Regions from separate parts of the Homo sapiens genome. Here region 2 is linked to region 1. Evidence: promoter capture Hi-C in 16 types of primary human blood cells and fetal thymus (Javierre and others, 2016). All regions are on one chromosome and are shown on one strand. The core of a region is centred on a gene start or on the middle of the fragment in contact, and the rest is flanking DNA. Distances in the headings are between cores, read along the strand shown.

Evidence for each region. Contacts are between HindIII fragments. The CHiCAGO score rates a contact against its expected background, and 5 or more counts as called.
Region 2: a contact is called between a fragment that was not itself captured here and the fragment with the promoter of UBE2S in region 1, in 6 of 17 cell types (non-activated CD4 T cells, erythroblasts, activated CD4 T cells and 3 more). The highest score is 8.8, in non-activated CD4 T cells.

The regions. Positions count from the first base shown.
Region 1 is chr19:55,404,552-55,411,283 of GRCh38, forward strand. It overlaps UBE2S (ubiquitin conjugating enzyme E2 S), which reads right to left and starts at 3,237. Exons shown (of 4, transcript NM_014501.3): 1 at 3,036-3,237; 2 at 2,264-2,411. The coding sequence starts at 3,038. LOC105372462 (a long non-coding RNA gene) reads left to right here and starts at 3,594. Exons shown (of 3, transcript XR_936075.3): 1 at 3,594-5,381; 2 at 5,660-5,766. RefSeq lists enhancers at 1-272, 2,700-3,213, 3,570-3,864, 3,886-3,995 and silencers at 2,866-3,335, 3,346-3,405, 3,416-3,465. The HindIII fragment of the contact is 9,685 bases long and covers 1-6,707 here.
Region 2 is chr19:55,063,854-55,070,947 of GRCh38, forward strand. It overlaps a transcript of RDH13 not described here. Among named protein-coding and RNA genes, the nearest start is that of RDH13, 4.3 kb to the left of the region's middle. RefSeq lists a silencer at 2,305-2,505. The HindIII fragment of the contact is 249 bases long and covers 3,491-3,739 here.

The DNA.
Region 1 (6,732 bases), core at 1,987-4,486:
CTCCACGGTCTGATTGTGATGCAGGTGGGTGCCCCGCCAACTCTGCCAACAGACTGGAGGATTCTTTTTTTCTTTTTTTGAAATAAGGTCTCTTGTGTCACCCAGGCTGGAGTGCAGTGGCACAATCTCAGTTCACTGCCGCCTGCAATTCCTGGGCTCAGGTGATCCCATCTCAGCCTGCCAAGTAGCTGGGATTACGGGCATGCCACCAGGTCTGGCTACTTTTTTATTTTAAGAGATAGGGTCTCACTATGTTGCCCAAGCTGGTCTTGCACTCCTAGGCTCAAGCAATTTGTTCACCTCAGCCTCCCAAAGTGCTGGGATTACAGGCGTGAACCACCATGCCCAGTCAGGCTGTAGAATTCTTAAGAGCAAGAGGCCAGGTGTGGTGGCTCACGCCTGTAATCCCAGCACTTTGGGAGGCTAAGGCGGGTGGATCACCTGAGGTCAGGAGTTCAAGACCAGCCAGACCAACATGGAGAAACCCCGTCTCTACTAAAAATACAATATTAGCCAGGCGTGGTGGTGCATGCCTGTAATCCCAGCTACTCGGAAGGCTGAGGCAGAAGAATCCCTTGAACCCGGGATGGGGAGGTTGCAGTGTGCGGAGATCGCGCCACTGCACTCCAGCCTGGGCAACAAGAGCGAAACTCTGTTTCCAAAAAAAAAAAAAAAAAGCCAAGCGCGGTGCCTCACACCTGTAATCCCAGCACTTTGGGAGGCTGAGGCGGGCGGATCACAAGGTCAGGAGTTCGAGACCAGCCTGGCCAACATGGTGAAACCCCATCTCTACTAAAAATACAAAAAATTAGCTGGGCATGGTGGTGCACGTCTGTAATCCCAGCTACTTGGGAGGCTGAGGCAGGAGAACTGCTTGAACCCAGGAGGCAGAGGTTGCAGTGAGCAGAGATTGTGCTATTGCACTCCAGCCTAGGCGACAGAGCAAGACTCCGTTTAGAGAGAGAAAAAAAAAAGAGCAAGAATGGCTGGGTTCCTAGGGGGCCACAGGACCTCCCCCAAAACCTCAGAGATGATGCCCATCTTGCAGCCCCCACCTGTGTCACTATCAAGCTCGTCTGCACCCTCCTGGATCCCCCGTCTCAGCCCAACTGACCACTCCAGTCACAGGCCCTTCCCAGGTGGCAGGGACCCAAGTACGCACTTTCCTATAAGATGCCCATTTATATGCCTTTCAGATCAAGGATCCAACTGTCTGTTAATTCCACAGCCTCCCAACCCAGTGAACGCCTCTCCCACTCACCCACTTGCTTGGGTCAAAATACTGTCCCTCCCCTAGCCCATCAGCAGCCTGAGCACCGGCCTGCTAGGTCCTCCCCTGAATCTCATCCCATCTCCAAGGCTAGCTTCCTGGCTGGCCTCTGGGTTCTTCCCCCTGCCAGGCCGGCTCTCCTCACTACAGTCAATAGGAACTTTGGAGGGATTTGTCACACCCCTGCTTTAAACCTTCCACCAGCTTCCTCTACAAACTCCTTGAAGAGGCCTAGAAGCCCTAAAAGAGCTTGGCAGCTTCATCATCAACTTTCTTCATGTGTTTTTACCAAGCGCCCAGCTCCACCTGCCCAAGGGCCTTTCTGGAGCCTTCCTATTGTCATGATCCCGCGCCCTCTGCAGCAAGGCATGAAGGACCTCAACTGTCACCGCTGCCAGGTCTTTCCTGACCACCTACCACCATCACCACCGTGGACTAGACCATTCCTTCACAGGCTCTGCTCAAATCCTGACTTTGTAGGAATTCTGGTGATAACAGAAATGTAGCCTGCATGAAACAGTATTCTAAATCACTCCGCAAATCATGTGACCCGCAAATCATTCATGACCCGTCTCCCCACGATCTGCATCTGGCTTGTTTCCTCATCCCTGACACTCACAGCAGGATGGAGTTTGAGATCACCTGGCCCACCCTCCCAGGCCCTTGCTGACACCATTCCCACCACCTGGAGCTCTCTTCCCATTCCTACTTAATTCCTACCCACCCTCAGGTCCAGGGAAGCCATGTCTGAAAGCCTTGCTTCAAATCTAGAGTACCGTCCCATGATATACTAACTCAATGACCAGATATTTCTCAACCCTTGTGGGAAAAGAGTACATAATTGTCATTTGTGGCGTCCTGCCCTGTCCACCAATGCATCCCAACACCTGACACGAGGCCAGCCTGTAATGGGTACTTCCCGCTAGGGTGATCTAGAGCAGGGTGATGGAGGATCTAAGCAGCAGCCCCTTCTCTTTTTCCTTCCAAACTCACCAGGGCCCTCGATGGTGACCTGGAGGTCGGTGAGGTCCTCCTCGTTGGGAAAGACCTTGATGCCATCGGGTGGGTCTGCGGTCAGTGTCGTCACCTCCTTGTACACCAGGCGGATGATGTGCGGGGGTAGGTTCTCCACGTTGGAGTTCTGGGCACGGATGGGAGAGCAGGGTGAGCGAGTGTTAAGAGCTGGGCTTCCCGCAGGGCCTAAAGATGCTGAGACTGCCCAAGTCTTGACTCAGTGGCCCCAGGCTGTCAATCACCCTTGAACTCCCAGACCCTCACCCAGGATGCTTCAGGCCATCAGCCCAGGCAGAGTTTCCAACAGAAATGGGGGCGGGTTCACGGGGGGGCTTGCAGATAACTCCACCCACCCCAGAACCCCCCCCCCAAAGCCCGCTCCTAACCCTGCTTGGTCCCCAGTGGTTCCACGTAGGCCAGAGATCTACTCTCTCCCCCTTCTCCACTAATTTTTGGTTAGAGCATCCTTGAAACCCCGGCTCAGGTCTGGAGATGGCGGCGGGGCGTCCTTGCTCCTGGTAACACCCATGGGCGGGCCGCAAAGCGCCCGGAGCCCTCGCCGCCAGGGAGACTGCGGGCCGCCCGAGCTCCTGCTCCGCCTGCGGGAAGGCCCTCGGGCCCATCCCGGGTCAGGGACCCCCAGGCTGGCCCTCAAACCCCTCAAGGCCGCCCGTCGGAGGCCCCTGAGACTCCACCTCCTCCCTCAGGGACACCCCCGACCACCTTCATGGGCCTCATCGCCCGTGCTCACCATGGCTGCGGCCGGCCGGGGGCGGGTCCCCCCGGCCCCCTTCCTGCGTTCTTCGGTCCGCCGGCCGGGGCGGGGGGCCCAACTGCTGCCGCTGCGGCCCTGGAGAGGCCCCGGCGGCCCCGCTCCGCTCCCCGCTGCCTCCGACGTCCGCCGCGCACAGCGTAGACCAACCCGCCGCCCCGGTGCCCGGCAGCACTGAGCCGGCCGCGCGCGCACCACTGCCTCTTTATAACCGCCCGCAGGCCACGCCCTCCGCGGCCCCTCAGCTCCGAGCCTCAACCGTGACGTCAGCGCGCACGTTCCTTGGTTTTCGACGCGCTCGCTCCCTTCCCCGCAAACTATGGTCAGAAGCGAGGGAAGTGGCGGAGAGGGCTGGGTAGCGGGCCGGCCAATGGGGGCCCGCGGGGGTCGGGAGGGTTCTCAAAGAACGGAGGGGCTGAAAAGGGGAAGAAGAGAGGAAGGGGGACGGGGAAGGCGACGCGGCCGCTGATTGGACCGTTTGAATGAGACGCCGCCACGGCCCGGCATACGCGCGGGCGCGCCCTGACGCTGAGGAAGTCGCGCACGCGACTAACGGTCTTCCTGGGGGCCGGAGCGTGGCGAGGGGAGGCGGGACTCGGGGTTTTAAACGCGTGATGGAAGGCGCTCGGGCCAATAGGGATGCGCTTTAGTGACTGGTGGGTCACGAGACTCGCATGGGCCAATGACTGATAGAGACCGGTCAGAGGGCGACCCAGTTTCGTGCAGATCAAACCGCTGCCAGCCAACGAAATCCGTTGATTTTTGTATATGCAAATGAAGTGTGCGCTGCCGCCCGCGCCCCCTCCTTTGAGCCGTGGTGGAGGTGGGCGCTGGAACTCCGACTACATTTTTCTATGAGGCGCCATTTTGTGCTGGAAATGCTCTTGGACCCACGTCCTGTATTGCTAAGGCTCAAAGATCAGTCAGAATGACCTTGAAGGCTTGGACAGCCTTGCACTCCGTGTGTGACCCCCACTCCTGCCAGGCTTCATCGAAGACGCCAGCCTCAGTTTCCTTATGTGACAAATGGGCACTGGGATCCGTTGTATTGCCAGGGAAAGAAGTCAGAGAGTGCCAAGACGGTTATTCACGGCATGGTTATGCCTATGACTGACCCATGGCCTCCAGCCACACCCGCCTTCTCTGGGACTCAGTTTCCCTCTCTAGGAAATGGACACATAGCTGCCTGGAAAAGGGACCATCTCCAGCCCTCAGTGTCAGTAAAAACGTCAGGCAATTGCTTGAGAACGGTGGCCAGAGCTCCCTGAGCAGGCCTTTTGGAGGGGCTTAGAGAGGAGGAGGGAATGCTGAAGTTGGCCTTCCTTTGCTCATCTGTGCAGTGCGGTCGCAGTGCCCTCTCGGTGTCTCTGCCAGTCTGTGCGTCCACAGCTCTTCTTAGTTTCTTGGCCTTTTTCAGCCATGGATGAGAGCATTAACATCTGGGCCTAATTTGGCCACAGGTACCTGAAAAGACCCCTGGCTACCAGCTTCCCCTCATGGGGCCTCAGCTTCTGAAGAAGGAATAAGGAAGGTGTGAAAGAAATCTACATGGCCAAGGCCAGGCGTGGTAGCTCACGCCTGTAATCCCAGCACTTTGGGAGGCTGAAGCTGGCAGATCACCTGAGGTCAGGAGTTTGAGACCAGCCTGGCCAACATGGTGAAACCCCATCTGTACTAAAAATACAAAAATTAGCCAGGTGTGTTGATGCAGCCCTGTAATCCCAGCTACTCGTGAGGCTGAGATGGGAGAATCGGTTAAAGCCGGGATGTGGAGGTTGCAGTGAACTGAGATCTCGCCACTGCACCCCAGCCTGGGCAACAGAGCAAGACCCTGTCTCAAAAAACAAAAAAGCAAAAAAAAAAAAAAAACCAAAAAACAAAACCTACATGGTCGGGTACAGTGACTACGCCCATAATCCCAGCACTTTGGGAGGCCAAGGTAGGTCGATCACTTGAGCCCAGGAGTTCAAGACCAGCCTGGGCAACATAGTGAGAGACCCCCACCAATATGTACAAAACAAACAAACCCAAAACAACTGAAGAAACAGCTACAGCATAAAAAGTCATCATCATAACTAGTTTGTGGAGAAATGGCTTCAGGTGATCCCTTCCTGCTCCCTCACCCCAGGTCCAATCTATACCAGTTCCTGTTGACGTCATCTACTGAATCTCATCACGTCCCCCCATCCGCTATGCCACCAGTCCTGCTTAGAGTCAACGTCATCCCATTTTGCCGATAAGCATTTTGCTGATCTTCAATTTTAGCCTGCTGGGTGTGGAGGATTCCAACCCAATTAACAGACAAGGAAGCTGAAGGAGCAGGAGGTAAAGTGACTTGCTCGGGGTTCCCCAGCTGGGACAAGGCAAAGCTAGTGGCTAAATTCGTCTTGATCTTAAAAATCCACCCAAAAGACATAACAATAATGATGATAATACTAATGGTTATTATGTATTATTTGCTGTGTGCCAGACCCTGTTCTAGTTTCTTTACATGCTTGATGTCATTTAATCCTTGTAACAACCATAATGGGTGGATATTATTAATTATTATGATCCCCTCTGGATACCTGCATTTATTCAATACATTTGTTCTTCTTTATTAGTGTCTACACTCTAGCTGTCAGGATGCTATGGGATACAGCAGAGAATAAAAGGGACAAAGCCTCGACTTTCATGGATCTTACATCCTGGTGCGGGAGCCAGATAGCAAGTAAGTCTATACCATCATGTCAGCAAGTGATAAAGACTGAAGAACAATCAGCAAGTGATAAAGACAGGAACAATTAGTGGGAGGGGGAGGTTTGAGAGGGAGGGATGGGGCTGCCATTTTACCTTGGCTGGGCAGGGAGAATCTGTCTGAGGAAAGGTCATTTGGGCTGTTGGAAGGTCTATGGGAAAAGCATTTTGAGCAAAGGGAACAGCAGGTGTCAAGAAGATTGTGCTTGGTGCTTTTAGGGAACATTAGGAGGCCAGCGAGGCTGGATTGGAGTGAGGCAGAGCAAGTAGAGGGCTCTGAGGTGGGAGAGGTGAGGGGCTGCTGGTGGGCCTCCTAGGCCATGGTGAAAAGTATGTCTGTTTTTTGAGCAATGGGGAGCCATTGGTGGCTTTGAGCAGAGAATGACTCCTTCAGACTTATGAACAGAAACAGGGAGGCCAATGAGGAGGTGATTACCTTTGTTCAGGTGGGATGATGGTGGCTCCAAGCAGGATTGGTGGCATTAGGAATGGGGGAAGTGATGAGATGATGTCAACAGCAACTGGTATAGATTGGACTTGGGGTGAGGGAGCGGGAGGGATCACCTGTACCCTAAATAATCACCTGAAAACCGGGAAGGCAGACCTTTTCCAAAAAGGTTTTCCAATGCTGTGGTCCATTGGTCTCTGGTCCAACTCACTAAACTCTGCCCTTGTAGCTCCTAAGAAAACTAATGGGTGTGTTTCCAAAAACAGGCAGTGGCCAAAGTAGGCCCCTGAGCTATAGTTTGCTCCCTGCTTTACACATATCCCACGTGCCCCACCCCAGCTGAAAACTCAAGAGTCCTCCTCCCCACTACATTTTGCATAAGCCCCAGACTCCCCAAAAACCCATAAGCCCTTGCACCATCTCCTGAGGCTTCCTTGCCTTTTTCTGTTTGTTCCTGGAATACGCCAAGCTTTTTACCCTGAGGACAGTTGG
Region 2 (7,094 bases), core at 2,365-4,864, 340 kb before region 1:
CTGCACTTACCTGTCCATGTTTGTCACCCCCACCAAACCGGGATGCACCTCTGGGCACCTGCTTCCCCTTGCACTGCTCACAGCGAGTGTATCTGATCACCACCTCCTACCCCTGACTGTGCCTGAGGTGCCAGGAGCAGACACCGCTGGAAACAGGGAAGAATTCAACCCAATCTAACTAGGAGTAAGTTTTCTTCCTCATCAGATGAACTGTCATCTTCTTATATGAGCCCTGCCATAATGGAGATTATACAGGCAGGAAGAGCTATTTTAAGACCTTAGTCAATGGCCGGGCACGGTGGCTCACGCCTGTAATCCCAGCACTTTGGGAGGCCGAGACAGATGGATCACGAGGTCAGGAGATTGATACCAGCCTGGCCAACATGGTGAAACCCTGTCTCTACTAAAAATACAAAAATTAGCTGGATGTGGTGGCACTCACCTGTAGTCCCAGCTACTCAGGAGGCCGAAGCAGGAGCATCACTTGAACTCGGGAGGTGGAGGTTGCAGTGAGCCGAGATTGCCCTACTGCATTCCAGCCTGGCGACAGAGTGAAATTCTGTCAAAAAAAAAAAAACCTTAGGCCTGTAGACCTTAAGCTCTCACCATCTCAAACGTATTAAACCAGTTACACAATGCCAAATGCTGTATAAGAGGCACTTGGAGGAGTCAAATTCATAGAGACAGAAAACAGAGTGGTGGCTGCAGGGGGCTGGAGATGAGATTGGGAAGTCACAGGATTTGTTTTTGTTTGTTTGTTTGTTTTGTTTTGTTTTTTGAGAGACAGTCTCACTGTGTCACCCAGGCTGGAGAGCAGTGGGCGATCTCAGCTCACTGCAACCTCTGCCTCCTAGGTTCAAGCGATTCTCCTGCCTCAGCCTCCCGAGTAGCTGGGGCTACAGGCACGTGTCACCACACCCGGCTAATTTTTGTATTTTTAGTAGAGACGGGGTTTCACCATGTTGGCCAGGTTGGTCTCAAACTCCTGACCTCAGGTGATCCACCTGCCTCGGCCACCCAAAGTGCTGGGATTACAGGCATGAGCCACCGCACCCGGCCGGGAAGCTGTTTTTTAATAGATACAGAGTTTGTTTTGCAAAATAAAAAAAAGACCTGAAGGTGGACGGTGGTGATGGTTGCACAACAATGTGAATATACTTAACATCACTGAATTGTACACTTAAAATGGTTAAGATGGTACATTTTACTTTATGCATAGTTTACCAAACTAAAAATAAAGAAAAATTTTAGACTGGGCATGGTGGCTCATGCCTGTAATCCCAGCACTTTGGGAGGCCAAAGTGGAGAATAGTATGAGCCCAGGAGTTTGAGAGCGGCCTGGACAACACGGCAAAACCTTATCTCTACAAAAAATACAAAAATTAGCAGGTTTGGTGGCACGCATCTGCACCCTCAGCTACTTGGGAGGCTGAGGTGGGAGGTCTGCTTGAGCCCAGGAGGTCAAGGCTATGATGAGCTGTGATTGTGCCACTGCACCCCAGGCTGGGTGACAGAGCAAGACCCCATCTCAAAAATAATAATAATAAATGTTTACATTTAATAACATGGGCAATTGGTTCAGATGTTCATTTTCTCAACCTTGAAAAAAAAACAACACTGTTTTTCCCTGTCTTTTTCTCCTTTTCTGTAAACTGAAATCCTAATATCATTGACTTCCAGGACAGAGATCAGCAAACTTTTTCTACAAACAGCCAGATAGTAAATAATTTCAGCTTTGTGATCCACACAGTGGCTGTTGCACCTCCTCTGCCAGAGGAGCTGGGAAGCAGCCACAGATGATGTGAAAACAAGTGAGCACAGCTGTGTTCCCATAAAACTTTATTTATAAAAATAAGCAGTGCGCCACAGTTCGCCAGCTCCTGTTTGAGAGTCTCTCTCCGATGCCCAGGCTGGAGCGCAGTGATGCAATCTCAGCTCACTGCAACCTCTGCCTCCTGGGTTCAAGCGATTCTCCTGCCTCAGCCTCATGAGTAGCTGGGATTACAGGCGCTCGCCGCCACACCTGGCTGATTTTTGTATTTTTAGTAGAGACGGGGTTTCACCATGTTGGCCAGGCTGGTTTTGAACTCCAGGCTTCAGGTGATCCACCTGCCTCAGCCTCCCAAAGTGCTGGGATTACAAAGCGTGAGCCACTGCGCCCAGCTACCTGTCATTGAATTTGGAAGGATGGCATGAAGTCATTCATAACAAGGACTTAATCCATAGTAAGTGCCAGAACATTGCTGGCTGTTAATATGGTTATTATAAAGAGAACAATGCATGCATATTCCTCCTCTGAGGATCTCCTACCTGATTCCCAGACACACCCAAGGGAGTTAGAACATCTGTTTGGACTCCAGGTGGGCTGTCCACGCCTTTACCATTTTCCTGGTTGTTAACATGTTCCTGATCAGCACTGGGTGCTGTCCCAGGTGCTGAGAGGATTCTCCCACAATGCCCTTTGCTTTCCCCATCAGAGGGTTTATGGCACCCAATTCTCATTCACATTCTGTCTCTCCTTTCTCGTTCTTCTCTATCTCTCCTCTCTCTGTCTCCTTTTCTCTTCCTCTCTCCCTCTCTGTCTTCTCTCCCTCTCTCTCCCTCTCTCTTCCTCTCTCTCTTCCTCTGTCCTCTTTTCTCTCTCTCTCTCCCTCTCTCTCACATCTCTCTTTCCCTTCCTTTCTCTTTCCTCTCTCTTCCTCTCTCCCTCTCCCTCCTTCTGTCTTCCTCTATCCCTCTCTTCCTCTTTTTTCTTCCTCTCTTCTTGTCTCTTTCTCTCCTCTCTCTCTCCCTCTTTCTCTTTCTCTCTCTCTTCCTCTCCCTTCCTCTTCCTCTCTCTCCTTCTTTCTTCCTCTCTCTCTTCTTGTGTGTGTCTCTCTCTCTCTGTTCTCTCTCTCCCTCTCCCCCCAACTCTCTTTCCCTACACACATCTTAAGAGGCCTCAGCAGTGTAAGGTAAGTTTAGCGACCCTGTGGCTGTGTAGAGATAAGCAAAGGGGGGCAAGGAGCTCCAGTGGTCCCAGACTCCAGCCATTTGAGTCTTTGCAGCCCAAGCACTGCCCCAGCTTCTTGACAGCCCCAGCCATCACCAAAGGGCACACAGATAAGCTGCCTCCACCAAGGCCTGTGCAGATGGTAGGTTTTTGAGTAAAATAGATATGATCCTTGTCTGAAGCCACTGAGTTTTAGAATAATTTGTTATATGGCCATAGTAACTGGAATGATTGCTGTAGGTTTATTTTATTTTATTCATCCTTGCTGCATGCAACACATGCATGGCTCAGTAACTAGAAGGAAAGAAGAGAAGAAGGGAGGGAGAGGCAGAGGGTGGACAGGAGAGGATGGTAGGAAGGAAAGACAGGAAAGGAGGGTGTTGGTGGCCTTGCCTGCAAGCTGAGCAGACACCACGCAAACAGGTGACCTCCCAGTTAAGATGGAGGGGACTCAGGGCTCAGGAGGGGCAGAAGGTCCCCGTGTCGGAGAGCTGGGCAAGCTTTCTGCAGGAAATGATGGGGATCACGGCCATGTGAGCCGGCAAGATTTCCCTCAGCCAGGGAGGAGACTCCGGGCTGTGGGAACAGCTTAAGCAGAAGGCATGGGACAGGAATGCATATGAGAGATATTGTGGGAGGAGGGAGGGCTGCCTGGGCTGGCATGCAGGGTATGGGAGGGGGTGGAAGGGCTGAGGCGGGAGCCATCAGTAAAAGGACCCAGAGCGCGGCTCCAATGCCATGGTAGGAAGCTTGGCGTTGACTCAGAGGGCGCTGGGTACCGCTGAAGAGTGTTGAGCCAAGGAGGGTCATGTCACGGGCAGATACATGTTTTAGAATTTCTTCTTTTCTGGCTGAGATGTAGAGTATGGACTGGAGAGAAGCACAGGGGACATAGGAAAGGTAGTTCTAGAAAGAGGGGCTGTCCCACCAGGGAAAGTCAACCAACTGTTCCCCAGTATCCATTCCTCCCTTCCAGCTCATGGCACTAAAGCCACTGATTGATTAGCTGGGTGCTATCAATCTCTCTCTCATCTCTCTCTCCCTCTTTCTCTCCCCCTCATCTGTGTCTTTTCTCTCTCTCATCTCTCTGTCTCCCTCTTTCTGTCCCCCTCCTCCGTGTCTCCTCTCTCTCTCTTCTCTGTCTCATATCTCTCTCATTGCTCTCTCCCTCTTTCTCTCCCCCTCCTGTGTCTCCTTCTCTCTCTCTCTTTCTCCCCCATCTCTCTTTCTCTCCCCCTTCCTCTCTTTCTCCTCTCACTCTTCCTGTTTCTCTCTTTCTCTTTCTTCCTCTCTTTCTCCCTGTCTCTCTCTTCCTCTTTTCCTTTGTCTCTCTCTCTCCCCCCAACTCTCTCTCCCTACACACATCTTGAGAGACCTCAGCAGTGTAAGATAAGTTTAGCTACTCCACGGCCTGGCACGGTAGCTCACGCCTTTAATCCCAGCACTTTGAGAGGCCAAGGCAGGCAGATCACTGGAGATTAGGGGTTTGAAACCAGCCTGGCCAACATGGTGAAACCCTGTCTCTACTACAAGTACCAAAAAATTAGCTGGGCATGGTGGCACGCGCCTGTAGTCCCAGCTACTCGGAAGGCTGAGGCAGGAGAATCGCTTGAGCCTGGGAGGCGGAAGTTGCAGTGAGCCGAGACCACACCTCTGCACTCCAGCCTGGGTGACAGAGTGAGATTCTGTCTCAAAAAAAGAAAGAGGAGGCCGGGCACTGTGGCTCAGGCCTGTAATCCCAGCACTTTGGGAGGCCGAGGCATGCAGATCACGAGGTCAGGAGATCGAGACCATCCTGGCTAACACAGTGAAACCCCGTCTCTATTAAAAATACAAAAAAATTAGCCAGGCACGGTGGCGGGTGCCTGTAGTCCCAGCTACTCGGGAGGCTGAGGCAGGAGAATGGCGTGAACCCGGGAGGCGGAGCTTGCAGTGAGCCGAGATCGCGCCACTGCACTCCAGCCTGGGCGACAGAGCAAGACTCTGTCAAGAAAGAAAGAAAAGAAAAGAAAAAAAGAAAAGAATAAAGGGAGGGAGGGAAGGGAAAGGAAGGGAAGGAAGGAAGGAAGGAAGGAAGGAAGGAAGGAAGGAAGGAAGGAAGGGGAGGGGAGGGGAGGGGAAGGGAGGGAAGAAAGGCAGGCCCTGATGTTCAGGGAGCTGAGAGTGAAGTCACCGGCTCCAACCCAGGATCCAAACTCAAGTCTGTCTGGGGTCCTATCCCCGTCACCACCCCCCGCCCCGACCCATCCCCCAGAGACCTGGGAAGGAGCCAGGCTCCTCCGGTTTCAGGAAAGGGCTGCACAAACCACCCCGCCACGATCCCTCCCAGAGAACAAACAGCTCCCGGCCACCGGCAGTCTCCCTCCTCCTCCTGCCAGGCTGGTTCCCAGACCCACCCTCCCTGTGTCATAAGCGCCTCTCCCCGCACTCTCACCAGGGCTGGCTGTTCTCAGAGGAACGCCCAGGAAAAACCTACCCGAACCCCTTTCAGCTGGGAAGGGGACCCGCCTGGGCTTCCTCACCGCCGATGAGACCTCCCTCGTCGTACACTTAGAGCTGCCTGTGTTTTCCTTCCTTCCTTAAGCGGGCTGGGAACTCTAGACACTCAGGGATGGGCCAGCCCATTAGAGTAAGCATTCGGCCACCTCTAGGCTGCTACGGTCACTGCTGCTGTCACCATCAACGTGACTGTCTCACACCTCACTTCCTCCGGCCAGCCACACCCCTGCAGATTTAACCCGCCAGCCTCCCTAAGGTTTCCTCTGCCTGAAATCCTCTCTGCATTCCTGGCTCATTCTCGAAATTGAGGTCAAAGCTCAGATGCCGCCTCCTTCCCTGACCACCCTACCTGAAGCAGCCGCACCTGCCTGCTCCTAGTCACGCCGTTCCTTCACCTGTTTCGTTTCCTCCACAGGGTTTACCACAATCTGAAAGTCTTATTCATGCAGGTGTCTACTTGTTTATCTCCCCACCACACCTACTAGGATGACAATATCACAAGGGCTGGGGTTTCATCTGTCTCCTCCTCCTCTGTATCTCCAGCACATGAAACATGCTTGGCACACTGTAGGTGCTTAAGTATTTGCTACTACATCACTTTGGGATTTTGCATAGGACACTCCCAATGCTTAGAATGTCAATCTTTGCTTCATTGTCCTTGGCAAACTCCTATTCATCCTTTGAAACCCCATCCATTTATCCCTTAACCAGGAAAGGCTTCTGTGCCTCATACAACCACCCATAAAGCTGGATTAGGGCTTTCTCTGGGGACACCCTTGCCCTGTGCCACACTTCCATTAGCGCACATATCCCCCATGAATTGTGCACACCAGCAGGGTCTAGAGTACGGCACACATTTTGTCTCAGGAGCTACGTATTGAATAAATAAATTAATTACTTTTTTTGAGACAAGGTCTTGCTCTGTCACCCAGGCTGGAGTGCAGTGGTGCAATCGTGGCTCACTGTACCTTGACCTCCCAGGTTCAAGCAATCCTCCCACCTCAGCCTCCCAAGCAGCTAGGACCACAGATGCAGGCCACTATGCCTGGCTAATTTTTAATTTTTTTTTTGGTAGGGATGGAATCTCCCTATGTTGCCCAGGCTGGTTTCAAACTCCTAGGCTCAAGGGATCCTCCTGCCTCTGCTTCCCAAAGTACTGGGACTATAGGTGTGAGACGCCACACTCAGCCTCATTATTTAATATGTAAGTAGCTATATCTCTCTGAGACCCAGCCCCATCTAATTTATAACCTCCCTCCTTCTCAAGAACATGCCTCAGCTCCCATTGCCAGGGAATCTGACCTTTCTCCTTGTCATAGGATTTTTTTTTTTTTTTGAGTCAGAATCTCAGTCAGTCACCCAGCCTGGAGTGCATGGCGCAATGGCTCGCTGCAACCTCTGCCTCCCGGGTTCAAGTGATTCTCCTGCCTCAGTCTCCCTAGTAGCTGGGACTACAAGCGCACGCCACCACACCCAGCTACTTTTGTAGAGATGGGGTTTCACCATGTTGGCTAAGCTGGTCTCGAACTCCTGATCTCAAGTGATGGCCTCCCAAAATGCTGGGTAACAGGTGTGAGGCACCACATCCGGCTGTCATAGGAAT